Linked DNA regions of Homo sapiens: regions 1, 2, 3 and 4 are each linked to region 5. Evidence: promoter capture Hi-C in 16 types of primary human blood cells and fetal thymus (Javierre and others, 2016). All regions are on one chromosome and are shown on one strand. The core of a region is centred on a gene start or on the middle of the fragment in contact, and the rest is flanking DNA. Distances in the headings are between cores, read along the strand shown.

Evidence for each region. The method cuts DNA at HindIII sites, captures the fragments that hold promoters and counts their contacts. A CHiCAGO score of 5 or more calls a contact.
Region 1: a fragment that was not itself captured here is called in contact with the fragment with the promoter of TAGAP in region 5 in 7 of 17 cell types (naive B cells, M2 macrophages, fetal thymus and 4 more); the score reaches 6.2 in naive B cells.
Region 2: a contact is called between a fragment that was not itself captured here and the fragment with the promoter of TAGAP in region 5, in 9 of 17 cell types (neutrophils, naive CD8 T cells, naive CD4 T cells and 6 more). The highest score is 11.2, in neutrophils.
Region 3: a contact is called between a fragment that was not itself captured here and the fragment with the promoter of TAGAP in region 5, in 2 of 17 cell types (neutrophils and non-activated CD4 T cells). The highest score is 5.9, in neutrophils.
Region 4: a fragment that was not itself captured here is called in contact with the fragment with the promoter of TAGAP in region 5 in 6 of 17 cell types (total CD8 T cells, non-activated CD4 T cells, neutrophils and 3 more); the score reaches 8.1 in total CD8 T cells.

What each region holds. Positions count from the first base shown.
Region 1 is chr6:158,703,566-158,706,265 of GRCh38, forward strand. All of the region lies in intron 6 of SYTL3 (synaptotagmin like 3), which reads left to right. Among named protein-coding and RNA genes, the nearest start is that of SYTL3, 55 kb to the left of the region's middle. RefSeq lists an enhancer at 1,285-1,334. The HindIII fragment of the contact is 2,954 bases long and covers 1-2,700 here.
Region 2 is chr6:158,685,993-158,688,692 of GRCh38, forward strand. All of the region lies in intron 6 of SYTL3 (synaptotagmin like 3), which reads left to right. Among named protein-coding and RNA genes, the nearest start is that of SYTL3, 37 kb to the left of the region's middle. RefSeq lists a silencer at 1,051-1,251. The HindIII fragment of the contact is 8,716 bases long and covers 1-2,700 here.
Region 3 is chr6:158,556,409-158,559,169 of GRCh38, forward strand. It overlaps a transcript of TMEM181 not described here. Among named protein-coding and RNA genes, the nearest start is that of TMEM181, 2.3 kb to the right of the region's middle. The HindIII fragment of the contact is 3,429 bases long and covers 1-2,761 here.
Region 4 is chr6:158,635,492-158,638,204 of GRCh38, forward strand. It overlaps DYNLT1 (dynein light chain Tctex-type 1), which reads right to left. Exons shown (of 5, transcript NM_006519.4): 3 at 2,280-2,403; 4 at 1,637-1,714; 5 at 983-1,406. The coding sequence ends at 1,336. Among named protein-coding and RNA genes, the nearest start is that of DYNLT1, 7.9 kb to the right of the region's middle. The HindIII fragment of the contact is 4,116 bases long and covers 1-2,713 here.
Region 5 is chr6:159,043,675-159,046,374 of GRCh38, forward strand. It overlaps TAGAP (T cell activation RhoGTPase activating protein), which reads right to left and starts at 1,317. Exons shown (of 10, transcript NM_054114.5): 1 at 1,205-1,317; 2 at 446-530; 3 at 304-357. The coding sequence starts at 472. The HindIII fragment of the contact is 8,846 bases long and covers 1,070-2,700 here.

The sequences.
Region 1 (2,700 bases), core at 168-2,667, 340 kb before region 5:
GGGCTGGTAAAAGCCACACAGGGCAGTGCTGCTCCAACTTCCTTGAGTTCTCAAATCTGCCCGGATCTTGCTCCAATGGGATTGGGGCTCTGCAGGCTGGAGGCTGCCTGGGGCTCTGTGTCTCTAGCAACCCCTGCCCTGCTGAGAGCAACAGCCCACAACTGGGGCAGTGAGGCAGGGGGCAGAGTGGGACCTGCGGGTCCCCCTGCATGCTTTCATATGTCCTGTGAACTAAGAGTGGGTTTTATATTATTATCATTATTATTATTATTATTATTATTATTATTATTTTGAGATGGAGTCTCATTCTATCTCCCAGGCTGGAGTGCAGTGGTGTAATCTGGGCTCACTGCAACCTTTGCCTCTTGAGTTCAGCCTCCCGAGTAGCTGCGATTACAAGCGTGTGACCTCATGCCCGGCTAGGCTAATCTTTGTATTTTTAGTAGAGACGAGGTTTCATCATGTTGGCCAGGCTAGTCTCGAACTTCTGGCCTCAAGTGATCCGCCTGCCTCAGCCTCCCAAAGTGCTGGGATTACAGATGTGAGCCACCACACCTGGCCGGGTTTTACATTTTTAAATGGTTAAAAAAAAAAACAAAAGAATAATCTTTGTGACACATTCAAATTTCAGTGCCCATGAAGTTTCGTGGGAACGGGCACGCCTGCCCTTTATTACTGTCTGTGGCTGCTGTCATAGGGCGGAATTGAGCAGCTGTGACGGGCCCCTCCCTGGGGCCAGCACAGTGCAACGTTCCCTCTCCAGCCTTGACCCAGGCCCCGCCTGTGCCCCGCGTCGCTGCAGCCGGCAGGGGGCAGCAGAAAGCCACGCGCACGCCCGGTCCGTGCAGGAGCCGCAGCGGGGACGCGGGGGATTTGCGACCCGGGCCGAAGCGGAGGTTTCCTAGCTGGGGTCTGAGATGTGGACCTGAGGCAGAACTGCCCGTGGGGGATAGCAGGAGGAGACGAGGTGGGGGTGACAGTAATCGTGCAGGCAGGGCCGGCCTCACCGGGTAGGCAGGGCAATAAGGGACAATTGGTTTGCTGGAGTGAAAGGGCAAGGCCTGCAGGCGGAGGGGTGACCCCGCAGGGTGGGGCACCCCGGAAGCCACGTGGGCCTGGACTTCAGACCACGCCATAGGGAGTCACTGAAGGGTTCCAGGTGGTAGTGTGATAGCCTCAGATTCTCTAAGAGGGATGTGGCTTTTTGGTGACTGTGCCTCAGGATACTGTTGCCACAACCAGGGACAGAGTGACAGTGAGGGCTGTAAGGCCACATAGGGCAGGAGGGACCCAGGGCAGGGTGACAGTGAGGGCTGTAAGGCCACATAGGGCAGGAGGGACCCAGGGCAGGGTGACAGTGAGGGCTGTAAGGCCACATAGGGCAGGAGGGACCCAGGGCAGGGTGACAGTGAGGGCTGTAAGGCCACATAGGGCAGGAGGGACCCGGGGCAGGGTGACAGTGAGGGCTGTAAGGCCACATAGGGCAGGAGGGACCCGGGGCAGGGTGACAGTGAGGGCTATAAGGCCACATAGGGCAGGAGGGACCTGGGGACAGGGTGACAGTGAGGGCTGTAAGGCCACATAGGGCAGGAGGGACCCAGGGCAGGGTGACAGTGAGGGCTGTAAGGCCACATAGGGCAGGAGGGACCTGGGGACAGGGTGACAGTGAGGGCTGTAAGGCCACATAGGGCAGGAGGGACCTGGGGACAGGGTGACAGTGAGGGCTGTAAGGCCACATAGGGCAGGAGGGACCTGGGGACAGGGTGACAGTGAGGGCTGTAAGGCCACATAGGGCAGGAGGGACCCGGGGCAGGGTGACAGTGAGGGCTGTAAGGCCACGTAGGACAGGAGGAACCCGGGGCAGGGTAACACTGAGGGCCGTAAGGTCACATAGGGCAGGAGGGACCTGGGGACAGGGTGACAGGGCTATAAGGCCACGTAGGACAGGAAGAACCCGGGGCAGGGTAACACTGAGGGCTGTAAGGTCACATAGAGCAGCGGGGGGGGACCTGGGGGCAGGGTAACAGTGAGATCTGGAAAGTCACATAGAGCAGGAGGGACTCGGGGCAGGGTGACAGTGAGGGCTGTAAGGTCACATAGACCTGGGGACAGGGTGACAGTGAGGGCTGTAAGGTCACATAGACCTGGGGACAGGGTGATAGGTGAGGGCTGTAAGGCCACGTAGGGCATGGGGGACCCAGGAACAGGGTGACAGTGATGGCTGTAAGGCCACATAGGGCAGGGGGATCCAGAGACAGGAGCACCCTGTGGTATATTGCCGCCCGCAGACTGCTGTGCACCAGCTGTCTCCCAGGTCTGTGCTCGCCCCAGGATGGGCAGGATGAGCAGCGTGGCTGTTTTTCTCTTGCTTCCATGGCCAGCACACTGCAGTCAGGCTGTTTTTTGCTTGGACCTGGATGTTTTCTCTCAGGGGGCTCCTGCAGGTGCTAGCTTTGGTCCCTGACCAGCTGGTCCTACTAGTTGAGTGCCCGGGCTTCAGGCAAGACTGTGTTGTACCTTTTCATTCTGTCTTAGGGAAGTATTTCTTAATGGGGAGGGGAAGGGTCACAGGTGCCTTATAGAATCCTGTGAAAGCCAGATGTCCCCCAGATGAACCCCAGAAAATGCACACAGGCAGGTGGACTCGGAACTTTAGCCATGATTTCAAAGACTCCTGCACTCGCTATGGCCAGCCTGGCT
Region 2 (2,700 bases), core at 15-2,514, 360 kb before region 5:
AAAAGTTTTCTACGTCGTTAGAAGTTCTAGCATCATTATTTCAGGTAAGTAGTTTTCATGTGTGCATGAATGTATGTGTGTGTGTTTGTGCACACACGTTACCATCTTGTCATCTTTTCAGCACTTCATGTCTCCTGAGTGAGTGGGAGAAGTATGTTATCAAGGTGACTTAAGATAAAAAGGGAATTAGGAAAGAGGTGAGACTGATGTCTTAGGGTTTTCTTTCTTGCCTTATAACTTTAAGAATAAAAACTTCAGTAAGGACAAACAAACCAGGGTCAGGAAGATCAACCTCAGCATAAATCATTCTTTTTTGCTGATGTCGTTTCTATCAATGTATAAAATAAACACCAGAAAAGCCCTAACTTTCCCTCCTTCTCTACAATGCTTCCTCAAATGCCAGGGTGCCTCATTTTCCCATTGTCCTGTTTCAGTAGAGTTGGGGTAAGAGGCATGGAACTATGGGGGAAAATGCCAGGTTAGGAGCACACAAGTAGTGCTATGAGCCAGACCAGGTTGGGTGGAGTTTGCAGCGGGTGCGTCAGGAAAGGTAACAAGGATCAGGTGACAGAGGTTTAGGTGGACAGGCAGGAATTCCACCACGCTCCTATTTGTGGCCCTAAAAGAGAACCAGGTGCAGTCATTGAGGAGTTGAATTGAATTTGTGCTGCAGCAGTTAAGATCCACTTAGGGAAATAGAAACTGTCTGGTTATTTGAATAAGAATTTACTTTAGGGATTGGTTAGACAGGAATTGGAGGCAAAAAGGGAATAGTGAGAGAACAGAGCTAGCAGCTGCAGGAGGCAGACACCCTCCGACCCTGTTGAGCTGATGCTGGCCAGACACAGGTCGGAAGGAAGGCATGAGCCCCTTCTCCCTCCTCCTGGCCCTGGTCTCCCTCTGGAAGCCCCCACTGGACCCTAATAGGGAGGCAACTGCAACCTCAATTCTCTGATGTGTTCCGGAAAAAGTGGTTTTGCATGTTCTCTAGTGTTTTTGTTGTCATGGTACCGGCAATACTCTTTCCAGCCCTCTATATCCTGAGCAGAAGTTAGAAAAACTAGATGGTGGTTTAAACCACAAAAGTGTACAGACAGCTCCAGTCTGTGCCTCTTTCCACGCACTGGTTATCTATTGCTGTATAGCAAATTCCCCTCAAACCTAGTGACATAAATCAAGTAACATTCTTTGACAGTTTCTGTCTTCAGTGGAAGGCTCGCCTGGGGCTGGGGGATCTGTGCTCTTGGGGCTTACCCTCATACCTGGCCAGTGACTGCTGGTATTGGGAGGAGGACTTGGTTCCTCACCATGGGGATATCTCCACAGGGCTGCTTGAGTGTCCTCATGACATGGCGGCTGGCTTCTCCCAGGGCAAGTGATCCAAGAGAGAGAAAAGCAGAGCCCACAATATCTTTTATGGTCTAGCTTCAGAAGCCACACCCTGTCATTTCTGCTATGCCCTATGGGTCCCACAGGTCAGCCCTAGTCAGAGAGGACAAAGGGTCTGAATATCAGGAAGCAAGAATCACTGGGACCGTCTGTGTGCTACCAAATCCTGTGTTCCTTGTCTTGGGAGAATGGCGACACCTCTCACTCTGTCTCCAAATCCACAGACCTGAGAATCAAACTTGACTCCTTTGTTCCTCATTCTGCCGCTACATCTGGTCAGTCAGCAAATCCTGACATTTCTGCCTCCTGAGTCTCTGGAATCTTCCTCTGCCCTTCATTCTCACTTCCAACGTAGCAGCTCCTAACTGCTTCCCCCTTGGTCCATCTTCTATTCTGTGAAGAGAGGGAGCTTCCTTTTCTCTTTGAAAGGAAGTTACTTACTTTCTGATTACAGAAGTAATGCAAACCTTGCAAGCATTTGGGAAACACAGAATAGTATTTAGATGTAATGGAAATACTACCACAATCCCAAACTACTGTAAATTACATGCACGTGTACACACCTGCACACTCCCAGCCTTCTTTCTAGGTAAGCCTGTGTATATGTGTGTGCACAGATAGACTTATCCAATTTCAAATGTATTGTGATCAGACTCTATGTGGTTTTATTTTGCTTTTACAATTCAACTTGGCATAAACATTTTCCTATGTTATTAAGACTTCTTCCAAAATGTATTGATGACTCCATAAAATACACCAAATATATGCACTATAGTTTATTTAACCTGTTCCCGAGTGTCTGTGAGTATATCACTGTATTTGATTTTTCATGTTATAGATAACTCTGTGATGAACGTCTTGTACAGGTATTTTGACATGTCTGTTTATTTTTGGGGGGTAAATTCTTAGAAGAATGATTGGTCAAGTGTATGAATACTTGAAAGGCTTTTGATGTTTTGCCAAATTACCCTCTGGGAGTGTGTGCTTATTTACAACAGGCTGGCAGGGTACACAAATTTCCTTCTTCCCACACTCTGGCCCCCATTACATTCTGAGCTTTGAAGCATGATTTCAAATTACATTCACGTAAAAAACTAGACGCCAGGCTCAGTGGCTCATGCCTGTAATCCCAGCATTTTGGGAGGTCAAAGCAGGAGGATCGCTTGAGCCCAGGAGTTCAAGACTAGCCTGGGCAGCATAGTGAGATCCTGTCTCTAAAAAAATTAAATGAAATTAAAAAATTAAAACCTAGAAAATGAAGAAAATCATAAAGAGCAATGTTAAAAATACAGCAGCTTCACCCAGAGAACA
Region 3 (2,761 bases), core at 10-2,509, 490 kb before region 5:
AGAAATGATATTTATCCAGGAATAGGGCATTGCAATGGGAATATATGTGCCATAGTGAACTATGTGCCTTTTCAGGGAGGTATAGAAAGATGAAGGTTTTTAAAGGAACAATGGGGAGGATTACATAATTGTTTTGAGTTAATTATTCTTGGCTACAAGGATCACTCACAAGGGGGATGCCAGTCTCGCGTTGGACAGGCAGTTACTGGGCAGATGTCCTCGCAAAAGTGTAAGATTGCGATGGTCTTTGTGCAAGGTTATGGTTTTTATAGTCTTTTGTTATGGTTTTTGTTATCAAGCATTTATGCACGAGAATCCTCTTCATGGTGTTCTCTGGCTCTATTTGTCAGGATTGTTTTTGGTATTTTTTTTGAGATGGAGTCTCGCTCTGTTGCCCAGGCTAGAGTGCAGTGACGCCATCTTGGCTCACTGTAACCTCTGCCTCCTGGGTTCAAGTGATTCTCTTGCCTCAGCCTCATGACTAGCTGGGATTACAGGCACCTGCCACCACACTCAGGTAATTTTTGTATTTTGTTGGCCAAGCTGGTCTCAAACTCCTGAGCTCAAGTGATCCGTGCTCTTCAGCCTCCCAAAGTGCTGGGATTATAGGCATGAGCCACTGCACCTGGCCTGTTTTTAATACAAGTGACTCCATTTTAATTCTGACAACTTTCACAGTAGCTTATCTCCAAAGGCGGTGCACCTCCTAGGATCCCAGCACTTTGGGAGGCTGAGGCAGGCAGACTGCTTGAGCCCAGGAGTTCAAGACCAGCCTGGACAACATAGTGAAACCTTGTCTCTACAAAAAATACAAAATTAGCTGGTTGTGTTAGTGCACACCTGTAGTCTCAGCTACATGGGAGACTGAGGCCGGAGGATCTTTTGAGTGGGAGGCAGAGGCTGCAGTGAGCCGAGATTGCGCCACTGCATTCTAGCCTGGGTGACAGGGAGACTCTGTCTCAAAAACAAACAGGTCATGTGAGAAATGGCTGATAGATCACACCAGGCTTCTTAGAGCCCAGAATAGTTTGGGTCCCTTTCCCCTTTTCATAACATGATCATAGCACCTTTCATTTCCTTTTCTATCACAGCTGTAATTATTTATTTATTTATTTATTTATTTATTTGAGACAGAGTCTTGCTCTGTTGCTCAGGCTGGAGTGCAGTGGCGTGATCTTGGCTCACTGCAAGCTCCACCCCCTGGGTTTAAGCAATTCTCCTGCTTCAGCCTCCCAAGTACCTGGGATTACAGGCACCCGCCATCACGCCCAGCTAATTTTTGTATTTTTAGTAGAGATGGATTTCGCCATATTGGCCAAGATGGTCTTGAACTCCTGAGCTCAGGTGATCCCCGCCTCACCTTCCCAAAGTGCTGGGATTATAGGCGTGAGCCACCATGCCCATGCCCGGTCAATTAAGTAATTATTTAGGTTATTGTTTGTTCTTGACTAGAAAAGGACAGGGACCTCATCTGTCTATTCGTGTTGTGTTTCCAGAGCTGAGAGTTGTTCCTGGCACACACACACTGCTCCATTAATGTTTGAAGAACAAATAAATGAGAAAACGAGTATGACGGGAGAAGAGGAGCTGAGGGCCATGTGGTTGTTCACATCCTTGAAGGAGTGTTGGGAGAGGGCTCATGCTGACCTGGGTGACGCTGGACAGCAAATCCAGGGAGATCTGACAGGAAGGAATTGCCAGGAGGTAGTTTGGAGTCAAATGCACACAGTGAGGGCCAGGGGTCCTCGGGGTGGTGACAGTTTCCTCTCGCTGGAGATGCCTCAGGAGAGACCAGGCAGCTGGCACAGAGCAGGGATTTCCACATCATCTCATGCTGCTCTGGGCTGGAGGTAGATACTGGCTGCCTCTAGGCAAATGTGGCCAGCAAATGTGCTTTGTTTAGTCCCTCCCAGGGTTTAAGATATTTTTTCGAATTAGTTTCCAACATTTTAGAATCAGAAGTGTCGAAAGACAAAATGACAGCAAATTTAAAGATCCTAAGTAGCTTTTCTTCATGATTCTAGAATCGGGCAGCCCTCAGAACCAACAGGTTCAAAGGACTTTGGGGCTGCAACGTGGTTAGACAACATTTATGGACAGAAAGTGGAACTGAGGCGCAGAGACAGCTTAACTGGTTACAGGTTTATGTTCTAGCTTATTTGAATCAGCTAACCACCTGCCAATGACAGAAGCTCACTGGCTGTGATTGGCTGAGACTCAGCTGTTTGTTACAAAAGCATCCTCCTCAATTAGGGTGTCTTCTCTTTTATGTTAACTATGCCAGGCTGCAGCTCCTTATGTAAGGACTCAAGTAGGGAGGCATCCTCAGGCCTAAACATTTAACAGAAGGTGTTGCATGAAAACGCATGTTTGGGCTGGTTGCGGTGGCTCACGTCTGTAATTTAACAGGCTCCGGGGTTGGGGACCCCTGCTCTAGCTCATAGAACTCCCTCCGACTCACCCCTTCCCGCGCCCCACGTCCCTGTGAACAGTCTGTCCCTGCAGGTACCCAGTTTCTGTTCTCCGGTCTTGTTGCTATGAAGAACCCTTTCCCTCTGCTTATGTATGAAAAGAACTTAAGAAATAATCTTTTGTTATTCCTTGAAGAGTTGCGGTTTAGGATTCAGAGCACTAATGAGATTTTGTGTAACTATTCCTTGGTGTCCTGGCTTAGGGTGTGCTTTGCTTGGTATCTCCCCCTTTTAACCCCCCTCTTCCTAATATCCACCTCACCCTCCAGATTCAGCCCAAACTCTGCATT
Region 4 (2,713 bases), core at 50-2,549, 410 kb before region 5:
AATGCTTTAATAAAGCGGCTTTGGAGACAACGGCAGGGCTTTTCCATTTCAGCAGGCAGGCACGGAGGTATCTTTATTGCCATGTCTAATGTGGCCTGGGGAAGAGCACTCAAGATGGAGACAAGGCGTGGGTTTGGGCCCAGCTCCCAACTTGGATGTGTGACTTTAAACCAATCAGATAACCTCCAAACACATTTTCTGAGATTTTTAAATGACTGCAAATTGTTGAAGACACAGAATGAATGATTGTGAAAACCATTTTGTAAGCTCTGAAGTACTAAGACAATTTGTGAGCCCTACAGAGAACACAGGATTAACAGTTAAGGTGTTACAGCTTTGGGCCAAGTGTGAGTTAGAGCTCTCTGGCTAAGAGAATAGAAATTGGTTTGCCCACCTCCCACCCCTTCACCTCTAGAAGAGGAGGGCTTAAGAATGGGAGGTGTGATGCCGAGGGGTAGGAATCTAACCAGAACCCAGCAGAGCCGTCAGGATCCTGGTCCCACGGGTAAAATGAGTACATCATGGAGAGGACCACAGCAGAACTTTTTTTTTTTTGGTTGTATATATATATATATATATTTTTTTTTTTTTTTTTTTTTTTTTTTTTTGAGGCGGACTCTTGCTCTTGTCACCCAGGCTGGAGTGCAGTGGCGGGAACTTGGCTCACGATCTTGGCTCACTACAACCTCTGCCTCCTGGGTTCATGCCACTCTCCTGCCTCAGCCTCCCGAGTAGCTGGGACTACAGGCGCCCGCCACCACACCTGGCTAATTTTTGGTATTTTTAGTAGAGACGGGGTTTCACCGTGTTAGACAGGATGGTCTTGATCTCCTGACCTCATGATCCGCCTGCCTCAGCCTCCCAAAGTGGTGGGATTACAGGTGTGAGCCACTGCGCCTGGTCTGGTTGTATAGATTCTGTAGCCACTCACTATGAAGAAATCGTTTATGATACTATGCAGACTATGAAGAACACAACAGACTTTAGATTTGAATAATTTATTCTAACAAAAGTATAAAGTATGGAAAATTAGTGTATTTGAATCATTTCAGAGAGTAGAGCAAGTTTCACACTAGCAGATTTCAGATTTTAGCACCTTTGAAATGAAATATTCAGAGTTAAGACAAGTGGCAACGCAGGCTGCAGGTGACCTACAGGGATACTCATCTGACTTCGGTGCCATTCACATCACAGTGCGGTCATTTGGTTTTTTCCTCTACATTGTGAAAGTGCCACAAAACAAAGAGAATGAGAAAAGAGTTCACTGAATTCATGGCTGGTGGTTAGAGGATGAACTAGAGACAAAAGGAGAAAGGCCATAGGCTGGACTGCAGGTCAAATAGACAGTCCGAAGGCACTGACGATGCAGTACATGGTCTTATTCTCCCATCGCACAGTGCAGCTCCCTGCGGGAGGGAAGAGAGCAGCATTTACGGCAGGGAAAGCTGGGGGACGACGTTTTACTCACAATAAGGCCAACATTCAAGTACCCATCTCTATGCTACACAAAGAACCTTGGCAAGTCTATTATTAAATGTTTTAAAAGGTGATAAACATGCATTGCATTCAAAGATAGGAAACTTCCAGTCATATATTTCACACAACAAAACTTCACAAACATGAATGAAAATCATACCGTCAGTAGAGCTGTCCCAGAAGCAGGAACTTGCTGTGTGTAATCCAGCTCCATTCTTCTGCATAATTACACAGGTCACTTAAGTTAAAACAAATTTTTGTTAGAGAAGTCTACTGGGTAACACAAATGTCATTCTGTCCACTTTTAGCAAACGTACAATGTATGTAGCTCCACGTGGTTGATGTTCTCGATAAAAATTATAGGGACAGATTGCCTTGTCTCACTATATTGACAAATTATAGGTGCTCCTTGACTTACAACATCCCATAAACCCATCATAAATCAACAATATATGAAAATGTAAGTTGCAAATGCACTTAATACCCTGGTAAATCCATCAAAGTTGAAAAATTCTAAGTTGAGCCACTGTCAGCTGGGGGCTGTCCACACTTCCTCTATGCTTCACTTGTTCTAAAAGCATCTGATGGGACCTCCTGTAAGATCCCGCTTCACATACGATCTGCAATTGTACCAGCAGCCAAATGGTCAAGCGTACGCTAACGTATACTACACACACGACCGACTCCCACCAGGAGCCTTCCTTGAGTTGAGCCACGTTAGCTGTTGTTTCTGGTACTGGATGCCCCTCTGATCAGTGTTAAAAAACCATCCCGCAAATATAAAAGAAACAAGACTCCATTACCGATGTATTTAAATGGTTTTCCCAGCTTGGTGAGTTGGCTTAAAGTTTGTTCTACTACATTTGTGGTCCACTGGTTCACTTTGCTGTGTTGATAAGCGTTACCACCAATTGCGCTTTCTATAGCCTAGAAAACAAAGCACAAAGCGCGTCCCGGTTAACCAAATGCACCCACACCACCTTTCAATCAGGAACTGACGGCACCCCAAGAAGTGATTTATGAAAAGTTTATTTTTAATCATGAGGGTGCCTTTGCAAATATACTTTTAATAGCATTATATTTCATTTAAATAAGTTTGAAATTTGCTTCAAAAATTCATAGTCTGTCAAATTATTTACACATTTTGACCTAATAATCACATTTCATGTTCACTACTATTAATACATTTTTTTTCCTGTTGAGGCTAGAAAGTATTTTGCCTATTCATTTCTTAAAA
Region 5 (2,700 bases), core at 67-2,566:
AGTTAAATATAGTGACTGAAGAAACCTATCGAGTCTTTCCCCACAAAACACACATACAGCATTTTATTCATATTAAAAATGAAGTCAGTAGAGTGCATTGATGTTTTTTCTAGCTTCTAGAAGCAATATTAAGGTCTTGATTGTCATCATATAAGATCCTAATTAATGTGCTTAATTTACTACATGTGTGATGTTAGTTTACTACTCTTATAATTACTATTCAACCCAAATAATATTCAATTAAAACAAAGTTTTCCACCTTCTCACAGTACAGATAAAAAGTCTTAAAAATTGCTTTCTTACCTCTGATTGACATTCGATTAGTGTCTCCATATTATTGGCGTTTAGTGTTTTTGACTAAAAGAGAAAAAATAAAATTAGGTAAATATCTTTTGGCCCTTGCCTGTAGGAAACGTGAATGAATGAATGTGAGAGGGGCACTCACAGCATTGTGGCTGCTTCTCAGCTTCATCAGTATTGCGGCTGACTGTCCAGGGGTGGATTTCACTCCCGTGTGGCTGTGCCTCTGTCTACAACGAATCACATGGAAAGGAGTTAGGAGGGACTCACACAGTAGGCCACTTTCAGCGCCACTTTGCCAAAGCACAGAGTTTGAAACTATTTATTTATTTTTCTCTTTTGCTATTTTTTCACTTGCCTTTACTTTGGAAAAAACTATTACATAGACAAGTTTTCATTTAAAATCAGTTCTGTTACCAGATGTTGTATGTTGTTAAGAGCAGCATCTGAACACAATTATTTCTAAATTATTTAAGTCAACTATCTTTACCACTCTAAACGTTGTTACCAATTTATTCCGTTCCATCAAGAGATAATCTGGATATCAATTACGTTAACATTTTAAATTAACATGAACATTAACTTTTTTGGTGGAGTGCTGACTATATGCCAGCTGTCGTAGTAGGTGCTTTGCATGGATTTTCTCATCTAATCCAAAAAGGAAAAAAAAAAAAACATATCCCTAGGATGCTAAAATAGTAAACATGAAACAAAGATAACATTTACAGAACTCCTACACCAAAAAGGTGCAGCCTTCACGTTGAAGCAAAGCTTTGTCCTGAGACTTTATAAAGTGAGAGCATATTCCACGGGATAGCTGTTTTCTGTTGCCTGTGATCTGAGTGACCTGTGACTTGCGAGGCAGCTTGTAATTTCTAGGCATGTTAATATATAGTGTACTTACCCTTGGAGGGTCTCTAGCCAGAGTTCTTTTACATCCGGTGAGCTGTAAAGAATGGGAGAAACAGCATAACTCTCTGCTCCTTCTAGTCCACTGGGAGAGAGAGAGACCGAGCCGGTCTCCCTTCACATGCTCTGCATTATAAGCGAAGGGGCGGGCAGGTGGAAATTCAGAATATTACAGAGACCGGAAAGAACATCATGGGCTGTCACACGGACGGAGCCAGCCAGACACTGGAGAGCTCTCGCTTCCTCATTCCTTTTAGGGCAGCTATGTCTTTTTTTTTTTTTTTTTTTTTTTTTTTTTTTGTGTCTTCCACTTCAAAGTAAAAAATCTGTAAACTACTAGGAGTGGAAAACATGACATTCAGCCCATAGGTGAAGGCTCTGATTAATGTCATAGGTGGGATGTGTGAACAAGAAATTGTGTTATTCTGTGCATAAACATCACTTTATTTTCTAAAGTGGTAATTTCAAGTGCCTCTTTTTGCATCCTGTTTGGGTGCTCTTTCCCCTCCCACGTGCCATCTGCTCTGTCCACCAGCACCACACGTTGATTAGCACCCCTGGATGTGGGACACTGTTACAGAACCAGAAAGAAACCCAAGACAGTCCCTTCCTTGAGGAACAATCACCGTCCAAAGCCAGGTTAGTTTCCTTTGGAAGTAGAAAGAAAACTCCCTCGAGTCAGTTGTCAATATAGTAACCCCCTCCTCCTTTCTGTAACTCCTGGTCAAAAGTATTGATACTTAATTTACAGTCAGAGCAGCTGTCGTTCTGACACGGAAGGAAAACAAACAAAAAAATTCCTTTGATCAGACCAACTTAAAGTAGGAAAGAGATGGTGAATTTCATTTGTGGATCACTCTTCTGCATAAGAGAATTTCTGATCTTTTCTGTAGATCAAGGGCTATATATGAAACCACTCAAATGCCTCGACACGAGAATGGATGCATAAATTGTGATCCATTCACATAGGGAATGAATGTTGTATAGCACTGATAATGAACAGCCTATGACTATAGCCAACAATATGGTTGGATCTCATAATATGACGCTGAGCAAAAGAAGCCAGACGTGAAAGTGTATATCCTGCCGGCTCCCATTAATGCAAAGCACAAAATTAGCAAAAGTCGTCTGTGCTGTTGGAAGCAAGAGTAGCAGTTTCCCAGAGGGGATGGTAATGACTTCCAGGGGCCAGCGGGGGGCTTGGTGATGGTCCATTCTTGATCTGGGTGGTGCTAGGCTTATGTGCACACTTCCCTATTTATGTAATTTTTCAATAAAAAGTTTTAAAATAACTTGGCTTCATTTATCATCAGCATCTTTAATTTTAAGACTTTTCCGCATTGTCAGTTCTTTTGTCATTTTACTGAAAGGAGGTGATTATGGGGCAGACTTTGGGAAACCGAAGCACAGAGAGGTCGAAATTTGCTCTGTAACTTAGCGGCTCGGTGGGGACCTAGGGACAGATCCTGGTTTTCAGGCTTCCAGCTGGGG